2 separate regions of the Homo sapiens genome follow, and region 1 is linked to region 2. The links are contacts of gene promoters, found by promoter capture Hi-C in human tissues and cell types (Jung and others, 2019). All regions are on one chromosome and are shown on one strand. The core of a region is centred on a gene start or on the middle of the fragment in contact, and the rest is flanking DNA. Distances in the headings are between cores, read along the strand shown. Region 1 has its middle 47 kb from the start of SLN. Region 2 holds the start of ELMOD1 (ELMO domain containing 1).

Evidence for each region. Contacts are between HindIII fragments. The study calls those that stand out against the background at their distance.
Region 1: a fragment that was not itself captured here is called in contact with the fragment with the promoter of ELMOD1 in region 2 in 1 of the 25 tissues and cell types used here (aorta).

Annotation. Positions count from the first base shown.
Region 1 is chr11:107,756,484-107,761,699 of GRCh38, forward strand. No RefSeq gene overlaps it. Among named protein-coding and RNA genes, the nearest start is that of SLN, 47 kb to the left of the region's middle. The HindIII fragment of the contact is 6,096 bases long and covers 1-4,795 here.
Region 2 is chr11:107,588,124-107,593,147 of GRCh38, forward strand. ELMOD1 (ELMO domain containing 1) reads left to right here and starts at 3,024. Exons shown (of 12, transcript NM_018712.4): 1 at 3,024-3,286. RefSeq lists silencers at 2,907-3,016, 3,077-3,216 and an enhancer at 3,467-3,526. The HindIII fragment of the contact is 8,803 bases long and covers 1,056-5,024 here.

The DNA of each region.
Region 1 (5,216 bases), core at 498-2,997, 170 kb after region 2:
GAATGAGGAGCTAAGGCCCAGACTCTTGCTTGTGCCATTTCTGGGGAGTTGGGGAGGATGAGTGTCATTTCATATTTTACAACTTCACCAGGTAATTCTGACCTTCATACCAGATTATTGCAGAAGCTACATAAACCTTTACCCTCAAAGATACCCACTGAAAGATCCTTTCTCACCCCATTTCAACTCTCCAATCCTAGAAGTGTGGGGAGATGGGAGAGAGCAGGGAACACACAAAGACTCAATTATCTGACTGCCCCATTGTTAACTGTTCCTCACTCCAGCCAACCACGCTGCTTTTGTCCCACTGACTTGAGGCTTTGGACTGGAACTACTACATTTATTTTCTACTTACAATAGAGATATCAATGATCTACCCAGGACAATATACAAAAAAAAACACATATCTCAAAGTCCCCTTGCCCCTCCATCCCACTGGAGCCTGGCCTTCTGCCCAAACTGAGTTTTCCTTTTCATACCAGGTCATAATCACTTTGCATCTCCTCAAAGGTTTCTCACGAATTTTGCGTTAGTACTTCAAATGCCAGAGCTTTTCTCTCATTTCCGTGGCATCTCTACAGTTCAGTTAGAAGAGACAGCCAGCAGCTCTGCTCATTCACCATCATATCTGGAATCGGAATCAGAAGTAGCCGCTGTTCCTTAGCAGCACTGATTGAAGTCTCATTTGACCTACGATTTTTAGGAAATTTTATAAATTTTAGCCCTTTTTTTTTGTTTCTGAGACGGAGTCTCGCTCTGTTGTCCAGGCTGGAGTGCAGTGGCGCAATCTCAACTCACTGAAACCTCCACCTCCTGGGTTCAAGCGATTCTTGTGCTTCAACCTCCCAAGTAGCTGGGACTACAGGCATGTGCCGCCATGCCTGGCTAATTTTTCTATATTCAGTAGAGATGGGGTTTCACCATGTTGGCCAGGCTGGTCTCAAACAAACTCCTGACCTCAAGTGATCCACCTGCCTCAGCCTTCCAGAGTGCTGGGATTACAAGCATGAGCTACCATGCCCAGCCTATTTTATACATTTTAACTCTGCTTCTTCCACTCATTAGCAATTGATGTTGGACAAGTTAATTAAATTCCCACAATCTCTATTTTTTTAGATCCCATCTCGTGTAGTAATTGTGAAAATTAAATGAGACAACATGCAAAATCATCTATGAAATTTGTTGTACAAAGTAAGTATAATCTAGAGGCAGCATAGTGTGTAGTCAAGTATCAATTAGCTTCTGCTGCTTAACAAACTATCCCAAAGCTTAGTAGCTTAAAACAGCACAATTTATTTATGTTTTTGTAGGTTGGCAATTTGGGCTGCACTCAGCTGAAGAGTTCTGGGAATTGTCTACTGCCATCTAGAGCTGAGGAGGTAACAGTGCCAGTGTCTCTCATTAGCCAGGAGGGTAGCCCAGGCTTTGTTCACATGGCAGCAGGCGAGTTCCCAAGGGTGAGATAAGAAGCATGTATGGAATGGTTTGGATCTGTGTCCCTACCCATATCACATGTTGAATTGTAATTTCTTGTGTTGGAGGTGAGGCCTGGTAGGAGATGGTTGGACCATGGGGGAATATTTCTCACAAATGGTTTAGTACCATGCTCTTGGGACTGTCCTCCCCATAGTGACTAAGTTCCTGTGAGATGTGGTCATTTAAAAATGTGTAGCACCTTCTGACTATGATCATCATGGCAGATGGGAGGCAGGAGTAGATTGCAGCTCTGACTCAGATGGACAGAGCATTGTGTGGAGGCTCACATCGTGAACTTAAGCTCCAGAACAACTTCAATAACAAACCAGGAGTCCCGAGAGGACCCACAGACCCTCTGAAGGAAGTGGACTGCTCCTGCAAGACCCAGGAGACACCCCAAACACTGTGCCCAAACTGCAGAAGTGGGAAAGGGAGATCCTCCACTCCTGAACACACACCCCCACTGGGGAAACTGAAGGTCTAGTTTGCGGGAGAATTTTCTGACCATACCTGGAGCTGAGTCAATTTAGAGAGCCAAGTGAAATACAGGGGTAGAGGAAGCAGCGAGAAAGGTCCTGGGAGCTCGCTGGGTCCCCAAGCAGGCCATTCCTGCCTAGCACCACAAGGATTCTTTGGGAGGGTGGACAGAGGTGCAGGGGTAAACACCACAGGGAGAAGGAAGTCTCCAGGTGAACTTTGTAACAATTTGAACCTGGTGAGAAGCCTCCTGGCCAGAACTCGGGGGAGGGTGCAAATCTGGTGTGCAGACTCTGTAGATGGGGGAAGAACCAAAGCCCTTTATTTTTGCAGCTGGGAGACAGGTAGCCTGAAGCAGGTTCTCAAGCCCTGCTCTCCCTCTGCCTGGAAACAGACTCAGGGCTGTTGGAGGGGCACAGTGGGAGTGAGATCGACCCTTTGGATTGCGTGGGAGCTGGGTGAGGCCTGTGACTGCCGGCTTTCCCCCACTTTCCTGATAACATGCGTGACTCAGCAGAGGCAGCCATAATCCTCCTAGGTACATAACTCCATTGACCTAGGAACCTCACCCCCATTCCCCACAGCAGCCGCAGCAAGACCCACCCAAGGAGAGTGTGAGCTCAGACACACCTAGCCCTGCCCCTACCTGATGGACCTTCCCGACCAACCCTGCTAGCTGAAGACAAAGGGCATATACTCTTGGGAGTTCTAGGGCCCCACCCACCACCAGTTCCTCTCTATACCACCACAGCTGATGCTCTCTGGAAAGTGCCAACCTCCTCCAAGTGGTTGGCAGGAGGCCAACTGGCACAAAAATAGACCATTAAGCCACCAAAGCTAAGAACCCTCACAGAGTCCATTTCAACCCCCTGCCACCTCCACTGGAACAGGTGCTAGTATCCACGGCTGAGAGAGCCATAGACAGTTCATATCACAGGACTCTGTGCAGACAACCCTCAATACCAGCCCAGAGCCTGGCAGATTTGGTGGCTAGACCCAGAAGAGAGATAACAATCACTGCAGCTCAGCTCATAGGAAGCCACATCCATATGAAAAGAGGACTACATCAAGGGAACACCCCGTGGGACAAAAGAATCTGAACAACAGCCTTCAGCTCAAGACCTTCCCTCTGACAGAGTCTATCCAAATGAGAAGGAACCAGAAAACCAACTCTGGTAATATGACAAAACAAGGCTCTTTAACACCCGCCAGAAAATCACACTAGCTCACCAGCAATGGATCCAAACCAAGAAGAAATCCCTGATTTATCTGAAAAAGAATCCAGAAAGTTAGTTATTAAGCTAATCAGGGAGGCAGTAGAGAAAGGTGAATCTCAATGCAAGGAAATCCAAGAAACGATACAAGAAGCAAAGGGAGAAATATTTGAGGAAATAGCATAAAGAAAACACAATCAAAACTTCAAGGAACATTGGACACACTTATAGAAATGCAAAATGCTCTGGAAAGTCTCAGCAATAGAATTGAACAAGTAGAAGAAAGAAATTCAGAGCTCAAAGACAAGGTCTTTGAATTAACCCAATCCAACAAAGACAAAAAAAAAAATAAGAAAATATGAACAAAGATTCCAAGAAGTCTGAAATTATGTTAAACAACCAAACCTAAGAATAATCAGTGTTTCTGAGGAAGAAGAGAAATCTAAAAGTTTGGAAAACATATTTGGGGGAATAATAGAGGAAAACTTCCCCAGCCTTCCTAGAGACCTAGACATCCAAATGTGTCTGGAATGGTTCCCGTGGGTTCTTGGTCTCGCTGACTTCAAGAATGAAGCCGCGGATCCTGGCGGTGTTACAGTTCTTAAAGATGGTGTGTCCGGAGTTTGTTCCTTCAGATGTTCAGATGTGCCCAGAGTTTATTCCTTCTGGTGGGTTCACGGTCTTGCTGTCTTCAGGAGTGAAGCCACAGACCTTTGCAGTGAGTGTTACAGCTCTTAAAGGTGGCGTGTCCAGAGTTGTTCGTTCTTCCTGGTGGGTTCGTGGTCTTGCTGACTTCAGGAGTAAAGCCGCAGACCTTCACAGTGAGCGTTACAGCTCTTAAAGGTGGTGCGTCTGGAGTTGTTCATCCCTCTCGGTGGGTTCATGGTCTCACTGACTTCAGGAGTGAAGCCGCAGACCTTCGCATTGAGTGTTACAGCTCATGAAGGTAGTGCGAACCCAAAGAGTGAGCAGCAGCAAGATTTATTGTGAAGAGCAAAAGAACAAAGCTTCCACAGCATGGAAGGGGACCCTAGCGGGTTGCCGGTGCTGTCTTGGATGGCCTGCTTTTATTCCATTATTTGGCCCAACCCACATCCTGCTGATTGGTCCATTTTACAGAGAGCTGATGGGTCCGTTTTACAGAGTGCTGATTGGCCCATTTTATAGAGTGCTGATTGGTGCGTTTACAAACCTTTAGCTAGACACAGCGCTGATTGGTGCATTTTTAACAGAGTGCTGATTGGTGTGTTTACAAACCTTTGGCTAGACACAGAGCACTGATTGGTGCATTTACAATCCTTTAGCTAGACAGAAAAGTTCTCCAAGTCCCCACCCGATTAGCTAGACACAGAGCGCTGATTGGTGCGTTTACAATCCTTTAGACAGAAAAGTTCTCCAAGTCCCCTACCTGATTAGCTAGACACAGAGCACTGATTGGTGCATTTACAAACCTTTAGCTAGACACAGAGCACTGATTGCTGCATTTACAATCCTTTAGCTAGACATAAAAGTTCTCCAAGTCCCCACCTGACCCAGAAGCCCAGCCGGCTTCACCTCTCACAAATACAAGAAGAACGATGAACACCTGGGAAAATCATCATAAAAAGGTCATCACCTAGGCACATTGTCATCAGGTTATCTAAAGTTAAGATGAAGGAATGAATCTTAAGAGCTGTGAGACAAAGCACCAGGTAACCTATAAAGGAAAACCTATCAGATTAACAGCAGATTTCTCAGCAGAAATCCTACAAGCTAGAAGGATTGGGGCCCTATCTTTAGCCTCCTCAAACAAAACAATTATCAGCCAAGAATTTTGTATACAGCAAAACTAAGCATCATATATGAAGGAAAGATACAGTCTTTTTCAGACAAATGCTGAGAGAATTCATCACTAACAAGCCACCAGCTACTATAAGAACTGTTAAAGGAGCTCTAAATCTTGAAACAAATCCTGGAAACACATCAAAACAGAACCTCTTTAAAGCACAAATCATATAGGACCTATAAAACAAAAATACAAGTTAAAAAGCAAAAAAAAAAAAAAAAAAA
Region 2 (5,024 bases), core at 1,774-4,273:
CTCAGTTTCTTCAAATACCCTCTCTGTTGACTGCATGTTAATCTGTTCAATAGGTATTTTTATCCCAAAATAATGCAGGACCCAGAGGTGGAGAAATCTGTGGATTTGTGGTGGAAGAGAAATTATGAAAAGAAAAACTGAGCCAGATCCTGGTGAAGCAATTCTAGGGTTAGCAAGAAAACCAATTAGAAAAGAACTATAGTCTAAGGAGCCACATAGAGTTGAGAACCTGCTTACATTCATTCATTCCTTTCACACTTTTCCTTGAGTATCTATTACATATTGGTCATCTGCTAAGTTCTGTAATACAAAGATGAATGAGACCCTCCCCTTGAATTACTCACATTAAACAGTGGCGAGATTGTCTCTAATTGCTATGGCATACATGTGTACAAATATGCTTTGAAGAAGTCAGTTCTAAGTGATACCAAGGCTGCCTCACACTTAGACAATAAGAGAATCAGAGAGAAAAGCTTGTCATTCAGACAGTAGGTAGATTCAAACAGAAGATGTATGACAGAGAATAACTATTGACATAAATAGAGGCCAAAGATGGTGAAAAGGTGAGAGGGTGGGAGTGGTGTGCAAGACCCTGGAAGAGACTTTTGGGATGCAGGAGATCTGGGGATCCAGGTTGATTCTGGACATTTTAGAAATGCCATTCCTAAAGGTTAGATAAAGGATATAATTTGTTGTGGAGATTAAACTCTCTAGCCCTCCCCTACCATTTTCCATTCATCACATGGGATTGCAGCTACCTACCTTGAGTGGTTTGAGTTTAGGAAAGTTTTAGCTGAGGGAATCAACTGAAAGGAGTAAAAGTCACTGGTTCAGCAACAAACTGGCAGAGATCCATGTCCATGTCATTTGTTTGGCCTAGAGCCAATATTAATATTTTTATTGATGTTTTTTGGAAGGATGAGTCAAGACTCTATAGCGTAATTTGATGGATAACACAAAGACAAAAATTAACAGAATTACTAGACTTCTGTCCTTAGTGATTATTTACAGTTTAGGTGTTTATTTTCTGTCTTTTTCAACTAGACTGTAAGTTCCATGAGGGCAGGAACTTTGTCTTGTTTGTTCTTATTTTCCTAACATGTAGAATGGCGCCTGCAAATAACAGTTGCTCAGTAAGTAGTTTTACATTGCTTGAACCACAGTGATAGGCTGTGATGAGTACTGTGATAGCAGTATGCACTGGTGCTATGAGAGCACAGCATTCACTCTGTCTTGAGGTTCAGGGTAGGCTTCAGAGAGAAGGTGACATTTGAGCTTGAAGAGTGAGTAGCACTTCATGAAATAGAATGAGAGAGAATGGTATTTCTTTTTTTTTTTTTTTTTTTTTGAGAATGGTATTTCAGAAAGGGTGGAACACCATGAATAAAGCAATGTGTTATTAAAAAAATAGTATGTTTGGGGGATAATAAAAAGTTTATCTTTTGAATTCTGATACTTAAATAGTCAACAGTATGCATGGGAAGTAAATTTCCTTCCATACAGGCATACATTACTTCATGCAATAGTTGTGAAACAAGGACCACAGGGAGATGCAAGCAAATTACGTTTAAAAGACTATGGAGTAAAATTCTTTTGTCAGGTGGATTAATCTATCCCTAATGAATCTCTCCCGAGAAGCTTTTCCCTCCAAAGGTCTATCTTTTTCCAAGACGTTTATTCAGGGAGGTATCCTTCATATCTCCCTGAAAAGAAAGAAAAGTAAATAGTGGCTAATGCTTTTAACAATGATTAAAAAAATCAGAAAGGTCAAGGCTTTAAGGTCATTTAATGTGAAGAGGAAATAAGATAAATGTTCAGCATTTAAGGATTATCACTAACCCAACTTTTCATAAACACAGAATAGTGGAGGTGGAACCTGCAGAGACTTTTATTCAGGGAACATCCACTGCGGGACAGGCAGATGCTTTGGTATCCAGGCTGCTCCGCGCCGCCAGCTGCCCAAGTAATCCTCACAACAGCCCGCAGAGGTAGGTATTAACCACCCTTTGTTTTACAGGTGAGGAAACAGAGGCACAAGACGGTCAGGTAACCGGCTTGGAGTGATGAATGAAACTAAAATAAGCGCCGACCTCGAAGCTCATTTGGTCTTTCCCCAACCCCATGCGGCCTCATTAAAGAGACTTTTTTGATTAGCTATGGAGAAAACGTTCTTCATCAAACATGAAATGCAATCCGGAAGGCACAGGTTTCTCTCTCTCTCTCTCTCTCTCTCTCTCTCTCTCTCTCTCTCTCTCTCTCTCTCTCTCTCTCTCTCTCTCTCTCTCTCTCTCTCTCTCTCTCTCTCTCTCTCTCTCTGTCTGTATGAAGTGGCTTCTGGGGCCCCACGAAGCAATGTTCCCCCAAACAGCCCCGGACGAGGGTGTCTATAATTCATCCTGTTATAATTAACCCCGGGGTTACGGTATTGCTTCTAAAGCCCTTGTTGAAATGCAGATATGGACCTCGCAGGATTGACACGATCTCTCAATTACACCTAATTAAAGAGCTGGCTCTTTGAGAATCTGACCCGACTGGGCCAGGAGTGGGAAAGGCGGGGGCTGCCGGTTGGGGTGAGGGATAGGGTTCTGCAGTCCCGGGAAGGCAGGTGAAGGGTGGGGATCAGGATTGGAAGAGTCACTGGGTGCTCGGTGAGACGAGGGAGGTTGGAGCTGAACTAAAACAAAGTTTGACTTCTGGACAATTATCCAGGGAGAGGGCGGGGAACACACCTTGCCCGGACTGTCTGGGAATCCCATTGACAGGTCATCTCAGGTTCACCATCTTCCTGTCGTGGGCTCCTCCAGGGAGGCCACCCGGGAGCAATTAAACTGGGCCACACCAGCCACCTCCCACAGCAGCGGGGTCCGCAGATTTAACCCTTTCCCCCCAGATTCCGGCACTGGGTGCCGCGCTCTCTCCCCCAGCACCGCGCCCGCGCCCCCGGCTCCCGGACTGGGCATGCTCAGTAGCCGCCCGCTTCGTGCTCCCAGGGAAGCCTCTGCACGCCCTCCCCCGCTGCTCTCGGTCGCCTCCTCGCCGCCAGCCGCCCCGGGTGCATCCCGGCTTGCTCCGCTCCACGCGACCCAGATTCCTGCCCCGCCCCCGCCCCTTCCGCGCCCGCAGCCAGTGCGGCAGCCGCGGCCGCCCCTGTCCAGCCTCGGCGCCCGGGACCGAGCGCGTCGCTCGCCGCCGCGGAGCGCGTAGCCGGAGCGCCTGGGGAAGGCGGAGATGAAGACCACGCCGCCGCGCGCCGGGAGCTGCTGAGCCTACCGCCGCCAGAGTCCAGGTGATTGGCGACCCCAGAGGAGCCTAGGGAGTAGGGGCGAATGCCCTTGGGGAGGAGAGAGGTGCGGCGAGGACGCGAGGCATCACGCAAGCTGCGCTGTGCCTGGGAGGCAGCAGAAATGCTAAGCATCGGGGGCAGAGAGGGAACGGGAATGAAAGTGCACTCTGCCTTGGTGCAGGGGCTCCGGGGTCACCCAGGACAGTGATTTCCCCTTCTATCCTGTCCTCCCAATTAACACCCGAGAGGCTGCAGGTCGGCGCGAGAGGCTGTTTGCATCTCGGCCCGGGCGTAGGTCGCCTAGCGACCTAACGCCGAGGGCTCGGGGAAGGGATCCCAGACAGAGCCAAAATGGAAGGCGGGACAAGGGCGGCCTGGCTGGGGCGAGGGGCTGGTCTGGGTCCCTGGGAACCCCTTGCCTTGTGGGCTTCGGTCTCCAGGGAGGAGCTAGGCAGCCGGGCTGCGGGGCCGCCGGACTGTGGGGTCCTCCGCGCAGCGAGCTGGGAGGAGCGGTCGGCTGGGCTGTTGAGCTGCGCCTCCTCCAACTGCTGGGAAACTCCGCACTTCAATATTGGAGCATCTCTTTCCCGGGCAGGTAGAATTGGACAGCCGAGTGGGGAGTGACAGCTGACAGCTGACGGGGCTGTTAAAAGCAGAGCAGTGGAGTGTGGTGGTGGGGTGAGCTGTTGTGGGTGCTTTTTTTTGTTTTCCAAGTGTGGGTACGGGCTGTTCTGACTCAGTGTTTATGCTCAACCTCTAAGCGGCGAGTTCGGTAACACATCTTATGAATATTTCAGGAACGACCTCACGGGCTCACTTGCTTCAGATCAAGTTTAATGAATATGTTGTCAGCCTTTCTGCTCTGCACAGTGCCCTGAGCTTTCCACATTTCATCCCTTTCCCCCACCACCTAGGAAAATACGCTGCTAACCCCCAGTGGGCCGTAGATTGGTACTATCAATTGAGTCTGTCATTTGGAGAGACCAATTTTGGGCAGGCATCCAGGCATTGTTCTGCATCTCTGCAATGTATACGTTTTGTGCCGGTGGCTTGACAACCGTCCTTAACTGGTGCTGCCAATATGGTGGAAAGCAGGTAGTATGCTTGTATTGGGATAAATGTCTTAATTCATTAACCTATTATGACAACACGTAGTTACAGCAGACTTAGTCATTCCCTCCCCCAGAAGTTTTCTCGGGGGTCAGTTTAGTTGGTATTTTGCCAAAGGCACACTCTTGTATCTACATTGGGAGGTATTTCTCTCATCTTAATCTTTTTCATAGGAAGAAGAAATAAATGTCTTCTCTGTAAGACATCACTGTCAAGAACACTGAAAGAAGAACCCATTAACGTAGGGAACGTTGAGGACTGGAACAGGTTGTAGGGCGTCTTCCTACACTTTGGGTTATAACTTCCATTGCATCACCACCATTTACCAGTAAACCAGCACACACAGCAATCAGTACTCGAAATGGTTCTCTTTTGCAGAAAAAGCCTGCTTTTCTCCCAGCTTTGGTGAGATAGATACGTAATCTTCGTAAAGACCTATAAGGAATTCCTCTGTGGAACAAAATTTTAAGCCTCCAGTACAGGATGCTGAAAGAAGCAACTCTTTAATCTTGCCAGCCCATGCACAGTGAAGCTGAAGTGCTTCAATTTACAGATGTTTTACATTTAGGGAAGGCTTTTCCAACAAAGACCTACCGCAGTTACATCACAGGCTCCACCTCCGCCTGCCAGG